Regions from separate parts of the Homo sapiens genome. Here region 1 is linked to region 2. The links are contacts of gene promoters, found by promoter capture Hi-C in human tissues and cell types (Jung and others, 2019). All regions are on one chromosome and are shown on one strand. Each heading gives the region's core, a stretch centred on a gene start or on the middle of the fragment in contact. The rest is flanking DNA. Distances are from core to core; before and after follow the strand shown. Region 1 overlaps LOC105378519 (a long non-coding RNA gene). Region 2 holds the start of ATE1 (arginyltransferase 1).

Region 1 (7,131 bases), core at 2,710-5,209, 1.0 Mb after region 2:
TCCTGAGTAGATCAAACAGTGGAAGGTGGCCCTGAGCATGACAATCTCTGAGACCAGCGTTGGAATGAGTAGTGGCCACTGTGACCCTGTCCTCATGAAGAATGACCCTGGTGCCATTGTCAGGAGCGAGCACTGTCATTTGCTGGCCTTGTAATTAAAAACAGAGCCACCCCCAAGGTAGCAGGAAAAGAATCCTGGTTCTAAAGCCCAGATGCTGTAGACTGATGTTTTGGTTTTCAGCCAACATGTTCAGTTTCATTTCCCCTAAAGCATCTGCTATTCGTTCAAGAGAAAAATAAGGACAGAAGAAGCAGCAATGGCTTTCTTTGGTAGTTTTTGTATGAAAGGAAAGCACCCCAAACCAAAATGGTATAACTTGGTCCAGTGTTGCAAATAGATTTACTTGGAATGTCCAAAGTCCACGGCGCAAAAAAGTTTAAAAATGTTTTGAAAACTGCATTCTTTCCAACAGAGCATGGCTAAGAAGACAATCCTTTAATTCTGGCCCCTGCTGGTTTCTGGGCCTTCCTGTCTCATTTGCTGACCGAACTCAGCTTCCCCCTCCTGCAGGAAGAGAGCACTTGTGATTCCAGCATCACTGGGGATCAGATCCTTCTAAATTCTCCCTCCTCTGGAAAGCTGGTTAGAGTGGAAGTGGCTCAGACCAGGATGTCAGGCAGGGCTTTGACTTGCATCCCAAATTTGTCACTTAATTGCAGCACAACCAACTGTCCCAGTTTGCCAAGGACTGTCCTAGTTGAAAGTCTGGTGTCCTAGGAAACTCCTCCTTTTGGGGCAATCCAGAATGGTTGGTCATCCTGGTTTTCTCAACCTCTCTGAGCCTAGTTCACTCCTCTGTGAAGTGGGGTGATCGTGGCTACCCTGAAGCTCTGAGGATCATATGGCGCATGGTTTGGCAAGGGTGACTCAATGGAAGCTTCACTCCCTGAGAGTCTGAGGTTAGGGGGATGCCCAGCAGGACACCCACTCATGGGTGCTCTCCCATCCGGGTCACTTGGATGTTTTCCATCTGTGATGTATTTTGACCTGGCCCAATATCCTTTCCATCCCCCTGTCCCTCACCTACTCTCTAGCTGCTTCCAGTGGGGCACCTGTGTACATCCCCAGGAGAGAGACAGGCAGGGCACTGCCAGGAAACTGGGTCTGTGGACTGGGGGATGAAGCATCTCTGGGGACTAGGAGTGCCTCCAGATGTCCTCAGGGCCATCTCCAGCAAGAGGCAACAGGTTCCTGGTCCCAGGGTCCTGGGGAGTTCCACCTGGGACACTGCTTCTTTACCAGGTCCCAAGGCTTGAAAGCAGATGGTGAGTGAAGTTAAGAGACACCCCTTCATTATTGGCAGCCACATAGGTTCCAGCAGAAGGAGAAGAGGGTGATGAGCTACACAACCATTCACGTCCAAAGTCTCAGTGAATGAACCTCAGTGAATCAGAAAATGAGGCCAGGAGGCCATAATCTAAAGGGAGGATAGTTTGGATTGAGGACCTGAGCTTTCAGCACAAGAACTTACCACAGTGGATGGGCAGAGTAGCTCCCAGTGTCCTGGTCGTTCCCTGGCCTTTTCCTCCTGGTGCCATGGCTGTGCCTTTGGGACATGGCTGCCTGGTATAAGTCCAAAGGGCTGATGTCCAGGCTGGGTGCGCAGACCTGTATGTGCTTGATGGAGAATCTAGAAAAGACTGCGCTGCTGAATGTCCCAAGTCATCACAATTTAGAAAAGAATAGCATCAAACCCTTGCATAGCACTATGCGCCACACACTGATATGAGTGTTATCACTCAGCAACCCTATGGGATAAGTACAGTGTATGATCCCCCATTTTGCAGGTGAGTAAACTGAGGCACAGAGGAATGTGGCATGTTGCCTACTTGTACATAGCTCATAAATGGTGGAGCTGGGGTTCTAATCCAGGAGGCCTAATTCAGAATCCAGAGTTTCAATGCCTACACTAGACAACCAGTCTGATGTGGGGGATCTCTGGAGTCATCTTACTGTTACCTAAAGCACATTCTGGTGATGGAAGTTAAGAGTAATACAAGGGACAGCCTGGGAGGTAGTGAGCAGCCCATCATTGGAGGTGTGTAAGCAGAGACAGGATGCCACTTGGAAGGGACCATGGCAAAGCTGAGTCCTCTTACCCTGGGAATCCTAAGAAACAAAAAAGAAGGAAAGTTGTGGTTGCACGAATTATTCAGAAGCTTTTAAAGGCTCAGAAATCTCATTAGTGTGTTTCTGTTCTCAGGGTTGCTTTTGTTTTGGTTTGGTTTGATTTGGCTTACGTGTTTTTGTTGTTTTCTTCCCCATGAAACTTCTAGGCTTGGAAAAAAATTGTCTGATGGTCTCTCAGCTTCGTATATAGAAAAGATTTAGTTTCACTCTGGGAAAAGACATTAAATCCTTTAGCGTCAGCCAAGGTCAGATCAGTTGAAAGGGAGCCCTGAGGCTGTGCTCTGGAAAGAAACCATCTGTCTCCATGGTTGAGGTACTAGCCTCCTACAAGGCTTAGACCCCTGGATCCTCCCTGGTACTGCAGTGCTGGGCCTTCCAGAAATCCTATTGAGAGAGTGGCATCGTTGCTCTGTTGCCTGCTTAGAAAGGCTTTCTAGGCCGGGTGCGGTGGCTCACGACTGTAATCCCAGCACTTTGGGAGGCCGAGGTGGGCGGATGACGAAGTCAGGAGATCGAGACCATCCTGGTTAACACGATGAAAACCCGTCTCTACTAAAAATACAAAAAATTAGCTGGGTGTGGTGGCGGGCACCTGTAGTCCCAACTACTCGGGAGGCTGAGGCAGGAGAATGGAGTGAACCCAGGAGGCGGAGCTTGCAGTGAGCGGAGATCGCGCCACTGCACTCCAGCCTGGGTGACAGAGTGAGACTCCGTCTCAAAAAAAAAAAAAAAAAAAAAAAAAAAAAAAAAAAAAAAGAGAGAAAACAAAGGCTTTCTGTAGCACACCCAGCAAGTTCCTGTGCTTCTCGAGCAACTGTGCCCACTCCTAATCCAGCATGGATTCCATGGGGCATTCACAGCATGAACGGAAGGGAGGGAGAGAGGGAGGGAGAAGGGAAGGGAGGGAGGGAAAGCAAAGAGGGGAGAAGGAAATTCCTCAGCAAATGAGTTTAGCTAGTATTGGCTGAAACACATTTAAGCAGGTGTCTTTATGGTAGGACTTCTCAGAGCCTTTGAAGTGCAAGCGTGCACTGGGAATCTCTGAGGGGAGACATTGAATGCCCTGTTTTCCCAGCTCATTTGGTTCCTATCCCATTTGTTTTTTCTCAGGAATATCTTGTGGGACTAGTGTTTCACGGCATTTTCTTTTGAAATGCTGGGAAAATAATATGTTAACCTTAAACTGTCACCTCTGGATTCTGATCTTCCTTCTGCACAGATACTCACTCCCACAAACACTGAGCCCTTATTGTGAGCCTACCAGGGGCTGAATAGGGATCTAGGGAGATCTCAGAAGGGACCTGTTTCTCCCATTGGTTTACTGAGCTCCATTCGGCCAAGAGGTAGGGCTTTTACAGCACAAATAGTGACAGGCAACATTTTTCTGCCAAGCTGTATTCTAAGAGCTTTATGACTGCAAGAGGGAAGCACTGTCATTAAGCCAATTTTGCAGATGGGGAAACTGAGGCATGGCAATGGCAGAGCTGGGAATCACCTCTGGGGGTCTGGCTCCAGGGCCTAGCTCTTCACTGCCTGGGGAGCCACAGCTCAGGCACTCACAGGGCTGCCGAGGGGACACGCGTGGGCAGAGTGAGCAGACCAGGTAGTGGGTGAAGGACTCAGTTCATCCCTCTATTCTATACCCCACCCCAAACACACATACGTTCTAGAAACAGAAATACCAGCTTTTCAAGACAGAGATTGCTGCTCGGTTTCATACCTGCCTACAGATTTGAGAAAAGAAAACACAAAACAATGACACATCATTTTTCTTCCTTGAAAGTACTTTTTTCTGTATTCATCGCTTCAATAAATGTTGTCAGACTAATTAAACACTGCAGTTATTAAGTTTTCTGAGAATTGCACTTAAATCGAACACCGTGTGCGTTTGCTAAAGGAAATGGAATCTGATGAGAAGAGGGGAGAGGACTAGTCCTGTTATATGTGCCGGGAAAAAAAAAAACTTTTTTGAAATGTAATTAGCCTACACCTGTTGGTCACCTTTCTAGAACACCGCAGACAGTCAGGGCACTTGTCATGGCAGAGTCAGGTGGGAAGGCCTCTGGTGCCCGGGGGCTGAGGACTCAGGCTGGTGCTGGCTGGTCTCACCTGGTTCCGCTGAGCCCTCCAGAGGCCCCAGCTCTCAGCACAGATGCAGACAGACCCTTCCTGGGCCAGACCAGTGTGACCCTATCAGTGACCCTTTTGGGGACCTAAATGTGTGGCTGCTCACATCATCATGTGGGCTGAGGCTGTTTCAATCTTGATTCAACATTCAGTTCCCCTCTCTGGCTTTTCCCCCAAACCGAATCACATTAAGCATTTGGTGGATTTCAGAATTTCACTAAGGCTTTGTAAAGTCCCGAGGAGAGGCCTATGTCACAGTTTATGGCATTCCTGAGAAAGGTCCCCATTACCTGTGCATCTCCTTCCAAGGCAGCTCAGTGTCATCACAGCAACCGTGCTGATTGCCGACAGAGCAGGGCAAGCACCAAGCTCTGACAACACCCTGGAGGCTGTGGGCAGCTCCTCTCCAGTCTCCCACCCCAGCAGGCTGAGACGGTTCTAAACGAGCCCTGCAATCTGGAAACGGTGCTGCAGAACCACTTCCCTGCTGTAGCTGCTGCAGGACTCCCCTCAGTTCCGATCTTTTCTTTCCCCTCCCTGAGTTTCCCTCTGCCTGCCATGGCTTTGCCACCTTCTTGAGCTCCTGGGGCTCTTCGGACCACACTGAGGCTGGTTCCTCTGCAGGAGGGACCCTGGCTGGATCCCCTCGCTGAGCTCACACCGGGCCCTCAAGTGGCATGTGCCCTCCCGCCTGCTCACTTCTGCCCCACTGTCCATACTGCCTGCAGGGGTCTCCTCTCCTGCTGCCAGCCTCTGGCCGGCCCCCTACCTGCAGGGCTGCTCCCTGGCCCCCTTCACTTACCTACATCTCCTCCCACCTCCCCAGAACTGCTGCCCTCCCCACTCAGTTTCCATCCAAGCCCCAACTCTGGTATTCCCAATGACCCCAGCTGGCTGCTCTCCACTGCAACCCTGCATCCCCCGACAGGGGTGGTGAGTCCCTGGAAGAAGGTGGTGGCTCAATAAGTACTTGGAGCTTGGTGGTTCCCATGGATGGGATGGGGCTGGGGGTCCGGTCCGGGGGTGCAGGGATCAGGGGCATAAGGCAGCAAAAGGACTGGAGAGACTTTGTTTCCCAGGCAGGAGGAGACCTGCAGAGGGTGAGATTCTCAGGGGAGGAACTGCCAGAAGCCTAAGAGCCTTTTTCCAGAGCTGCCTCCAGGAGAGAAGGTGATCTACCTGGCTCCGGATCAAGTCCTTTCTGCTCAGAACAAGCTTTCTGCACTTGTAGGGTGGGTGATTTTAGAGATTTGGAGAGTCAATCTTTGCTTCTTTCCTTTTTTCTCTCTCTCCTTCCCAGTCCCACCCACTCTAATCCCAGCTCCTGTTTGTCCAAGCCCCTCAAGCAAGACTCTCTTTAGTGAGTGAAAGCTGACAATGTGAGTCTCAGCCTCCTTCCCAGGAGCAGCTAAGCTGACAGATCCTTGATCTTGAGAAGCCCTCGCAGCTCCCTTCTCTGACTCTCAGCCACCCCTGGAGGGAGACCCTATTATCGGGAGACCCTATTATCACCATTTTACAAGTGAGGCTCAGGTGATAACTTGTCCAAGGCCAGGCAGCCAGATTGCCGGGAAGCAGGTGTTCCCAGCGCCGCTGCTTTCACCCTGTTCCACATCTCTGGTCCTTGTGTTTAGAACCATTCTTGAGTGGGTTTGCCAAAGGCAAAAAGCAAAACCAAGGCTTGGCTGACAGTTACTGAGGCCCTCTGAAATGTGCATTGGCAATTCCAGAAACACAAGCTCAGATCAGATCCTTAGCATTTAAATGAACTTATGTCAGGTTTGCTACAATATGATCTGCTGGAACAGCTTTCTAACTCCTTAACGGGATGAGGTATATTTTCCTTGGCCTATTCTAGGCAAAGATCAGCAACTTCAAACAAGGAGCTGTTCTTCAAATAAATTCCTCATTGATACACATTTTTGAAGAACACTGGGAAGTAAAAACCTGGAGGACTGAATTGTGTTGTTGGGCAGATAGTTCTTAAGAAAATGATCTGCATCATGTCTGCACAAATCAGCCTTAAGAAATCTCTTGTTTCTTAGGATTCCCTCCTTTCCTTCCATAACGTACCTGTGCAAACATAGTGGTTTGCCAATTTCCTCCTTGAATTGTCTCCATTGGATTATATTGCAGACTTGTCCATTTTTCACTTCTAATTATTGTTCTACTTCCTGGCTCAGCTCTGTGGGATTATTTGAAGCCCCAGTCATTGGGCCCTGTAGGAGTCCCTGACCTGAGATGCACTTCCCAAGAGGGAGGTACGTGGGTCCCTGCACCCCATGGATTCTCTTCTACGACAGTAGTGCATGCCACTTATTTGGGACATAAATATTTTTTCATCTTCTAGCCTGCCTGAAGTATTTTGGCTTAAAAATGATGGTAGAATGCAAAAGATTGGAATAAAGTGAAGATCTCATAGCAGAACGTGTTCAGAAGTATCTGGAGTAAAATGGAGATTTGCTTAAAAATATTTGATAATGAAACGGCACTTGGAGTTAAACTTTTCAATCATCTGTTGATGCCTTTGACCTCAGATTTATCAACAATAATGTGTCCGGAATTGGTGGGTTCTTGGTCTCACTGACTTGAAGAATGAAGCTGCGGACCCTCGCCGTGAGTGTTACAGCTCTTAAGTTGGCGCGTCTGCAGTTTGTTCCTTCTGATGTTTGGATGTGTTCAGAGTTTCTTCCTTCTGGTGGGTTCGTGGTCTCCCTGGCTCAGGAGTGAAGCTGCAGACCTTCGCGGTGTGTGTTACAGCTCATAAAAGCAGAGTGGACCCAAAGAGTGAGCAGTAACAAGATTTATTGCAAA
Region 2 (3,972 bases), core at 1,473-3,972:
CATGTGCTGTGTTGACTCAAGGTTTAATGGATTTAGGGCTGTGCAGGATGTGCTTTGTTAAAAATGTGTTTGAAGACAGTATGCTTGGTAAAAGTCATTGATATTCTCTAATCTCGAGTATCCAGGGACACAATGCACTGTGGAAGGCCACAGGGACCTCTGCCCAGGAAAGCCAGGTATTGTCCAAGGTTTCTCCCCATGTGATAGCCTGAGATATGGCCTCGTGGGAAGGGAAAGACCTGACCGTCCCCCAGCCCATAAAGGGTCTGTGCTGAGGAGGATTAGTGAAAGAGGAAGGCCTCTTTGCAGTTGAGGTAAGAGGAAGGCATCTCTCTCCTGCTTTTCCTTGGGAATGGAATGTCTCAGTGTAAAACTCGATCATACGTTCTATTTACTGAGATAGGAGAAAACCGCCTTATGGCTGGAGGTGAGACATGCTGGCGGCAATATTGCTCTTTACTGCACTAAAATGTTTGTGTAAAGCCAGACATAAATCTGGCCTACGTGCACATTGAGGCATAGCACCTTTCCTTAAACTTATGACACAGAGATCTTTGCTCACGTTTTCCTGCTGACCCTCTCCCCACCATTACTCTATAGTCCTGCCACATCCCCCTCACCGAGATGGTAGAGATAGTGATCAATAAATACTGAGGGAACTCAGAGACCAGTGCTGGCGCGGGTCCTCCGTATGCTGAGCCCTGGTCCTCTGGGCCCACTGTTCTCTACACTTTGTCTCTGTGTCTTACTTTTTTTCTCAGTCTCTCGTCCCACCTGACGAGAAACACCCACAGGTGTGGAGGGGCTGGCCCCCTTCAACAAGTCACCAGGCCACCAAGAAACCTCCTTCAGCTAGGTACATATCTAACACAGGCCCTTGGGGTCAAGAATGTCAAAACTCACCTCAAAAATTTATTTCTATTTCTCTGAGTTTCATTTCACTTTTTTAAACACACTTAAAACAATATTGTATCATCAGCTTTATTGTTGACTGGGAAAACTATGAGGACAGACAGGCTTAAATTATCTGTGCACGCAGAGGGAAAGATAAGGCATATTACCTTGTTGGAACTCTTTTTTTTTTTTTTTGAGATGGAGTCTCGCTCTTTCGCCCAGGCTGGAGTGCAGTGACGCGATCTCTGCTCACTGCAAGCTCTGCCTCCCGGGTTCACGCCATTCTCCTGCCTCAGCCTCCCGAGTAGCTGGGACTACAGGCGCGTGCCACCACGTCCCGCTAATTTTTTGTATTTTTTAGTAGAGAAGGGGTTTCACCATGTTAGCCAGGATGGTCTCTTATCTCCTGACCTCGTGATCCACCCGCCTCGGCCTCCCAAAGTGCTGGGATTACAGGCGTGAGCCACCGCGCCCGCCCCTGGAACTCATTTTTTAAAAAATTTTTTTGAGATGGAGTCTTGCTCTGTCACACAGGCTGGAGTGCAGCGGCGTGATCTCGGCTCACTGCAAGCTCCGCCTCCCGGGTTCACACCATTCTCCTGCCTCAGCCTCCCGACTAGCTGGGACTACAGGCGCCCACCACCACGCCAGGCTGATTTTTTGTATTTTTAGTAGAGACGGGGTTTCACGTGTTAGCCAGGATGGTCTCAATCTCCTGACCTCATGATACGCCCGCCTCGGCCTCCCAAAGTGCTGGGATTACAGGCATGAGCCTCAATTTTATATTTTGCCCTAGACTCTTATTCCTTAAATCTTCCTTAAAATAGTGGTTGCAAAATGGAGGCCCATGGGCTGGATTCAGCCTGTAAAACTGTTTTGTTTGGACTGTAGAGTTAAAAAAAACAAACAAACCCTGTATTTCCAGCATCTCATTAAAAATCGTATGAGGCACCGGACTTATAGTGGTACAAGACAGCAACTGTCTCTAGCTGACAGTTGTTTCCTTTAAAAGCCGTTAAGAGTTCTTTAATTTGCGAACCCTCGCCATTCACGGAATACCTGCTTGTGTTCTTGTATTCAGGGCACTGGAGTGCGTGCCAGCTGGTCTGGAAGCAGCTCCAGCAAGTCACTTACACGGTGGCCAGGGGCGGCCTGACTTTCAATCCGAGACCCGCCGGGAATGACTTTGGGATAATCACAACCTCCGGTCCTCAGTTTCCTTACCTGTGAAATGGGGCTGATAACGCACAGCTGTGGGAAGCACCGGCCCAAACGCAGGGCTTGGGGACACGACCACCATCCCCGCCCACGGGTCCCCGCGCCAGGCTTCGCTCTCCACCCCTCCCGCCGCGGGCCCCAGCGCTTCGCCGAGGTCGGCCCCGGGCGCCAAGAGGCGTGGTCGGCCCGAGCGGACCCTCGCGGCGGCCATGGCGTCGGTGGTGGAATACAAGGGCCTCAGGGCCGGCTACCACTGCGGCTACTGCGATTCCAAGGAGGGCAAAGCGTCCTGCGGTGAGTGTTCCCGACGCCGGAGTTGGCGCGGCCGCCGCGCCCCGCACAGGCCCTCGGCGGGGGAAAGGGCAGGCTCGCACCCCGACTCCCGCTTCCCTTCCCCTCTTGACTCTCCCCATCCTGTTTCCCTTCCCGCTCTGTCTCTCCGCCTCACCCTCACTGACGACGGCGGCCCCTTATGGAGAAGGAACGGAAATAGTGGAAAGCTGCCCTCGGTCAAGATGGCGCGGGCGGCGTCAGCTCCAAGAGGCGCCGGGCCGGCCGGGCCTGCGGGCGCCCGAGTGGCTTCGCGCGAGCCTCGGGAGGCTCCCGGGCGGCGCGCTGCATTGTGGGGTGGCGGCGGCGGCCGCGCTAGCGACGCGGGGCCGGGCGGCTGAGCGTTCGCGGGGCCGAGGCCATGGCTTTCTGGGCGGGGGGTTCGCCCAGCGTCGTGGACTATTTCCCTAGCGAGGACTTCTACCGCTGCGGCTACTGCAAGAACGAGTCGGGCAGCCGCTCCAATGGTGAGCGAGCCGGGCCGGCGGGCGTGGGAAGCCGGGCGCCCGGGTCTCGGGATCCCAGGGTCCCCCAGCGAGGACGCGAGGGGGCCGGAGCCCCTGGCCCCAGTGCCACGGCCGAGACGGAGGGGGCACTCTCGGGAGGGCCGCGGCGCCGGCTTAGCGGGGCAGCTTCGCGGTGCCTGTTCTGCAGGAAAATCCTAACCGGTGCCCGTACTCTCGAAATCGTGGTGGTCTCCCCAGAGTCGGGAGACGGACGCCCGTCTGGGGTAGATTGTGTGAGGTGAAGGACGGCGCGCAGTGCCAGGGAACGCCCCAGAGCCGTAGTTAATGGCCGGGGCTGACCGGTGGGTGCTGCGGTGGGAGCGTCCCGGGAGCGAGGGCGAAACGCGGTGCAGAGGGAGCTGTGGGTGTGCACACAGGTGCCGGTCATGTATGAATCAGACTTCCCTGGACGAATGTACAGGAAGGATGAGCCCTTTGCATCTCTGGGTTAAAAAAAAAAAAAGTTAAAAAAAAAAAGGACAAGAAACTGGTGACCGCGGTCGCTACCGGCGAGGGATTCTGTTTGTCCTGATCTGTTTGAAATTTTTACCATTTGCTTATATGCCGTGTCTTTCCTCCACCCACCCGGACGACAGCAAAGCCAGCCCACAAGTTTGTTTTGTTTTTCCATCGTGATTCAGATTTCTTTGGGGGAGATTTGTTGCTGGTAAACAAAACATCGTGTTTATTTCCTCTCTTGCCATGCATTTGCCAATATAGAATGTAGACTCTATTATTTTAATAGAACAGTCTAGCTTTGTGGAAAACGAGATTCGCATGAAAACACACAGGCATTTTCCATGAAAAAGGTGTAAGTGGGGAATGATTTGGTCGATAACGGTGTGTGCATTTGCTCCTTCATTAAAAGTGTTTATTAAGTGCTACTTGTGGGCAGCGGTTTTGAGTAGACAGTTATGCAATCGTTAGAAGTGAGGATTATGAAGACTAAATGGAAAAATGCTTCCAGTTTGGACTTAAACGGAGAAAATCAACAGGATGCAAATGGCTTATGCGACATGATTAC

The links. Contacts are between HindIII fragments. The study calls those that stand out against the background at their distance.
Region 1: a contact is called between a fragment that was not itself captured here and the fragment with the promoter of ATE1 in region 2, in 1 of the 25 tissues and cell types used here (dorsolateral prefrontal cortex).

Annotation. Positions count from the first base shown.
Region 1 is chr10:120,924,706-120,931,836 of GRCh38, reverse strand. The region is part of intron 2 of LOC105378519 (a long non-coding RNA gene); the gene reads left to right. Among named protein-coding and RNA genes, the nearest start is that of WDR11, 77 kb to the right of the region's middle. The HindIII fragment of the contact is 4,762 bases long and covers 1,579-6,340 here.
Region 2 is chr10:121,926,781-121,930,752 of GRCh38, reverse strand. ATE1 (arginyltransferase 1) reads left to right here and starts at 2,722. Exons shown (of 12, transcript NM_001001976.3): 1 at 2,722-2,909. The coding sequence starts at 2,804. It also overlaps the pseudogene ATE1OSP. RefSeq lists silencers at 25-319, 2,141-2,440, 2,631-3,050 and enhancers at 1,956-2,822, 3,361-3,510. The HindIII fragment of the contact is 7,909 bases long and covers 1-3,972 here.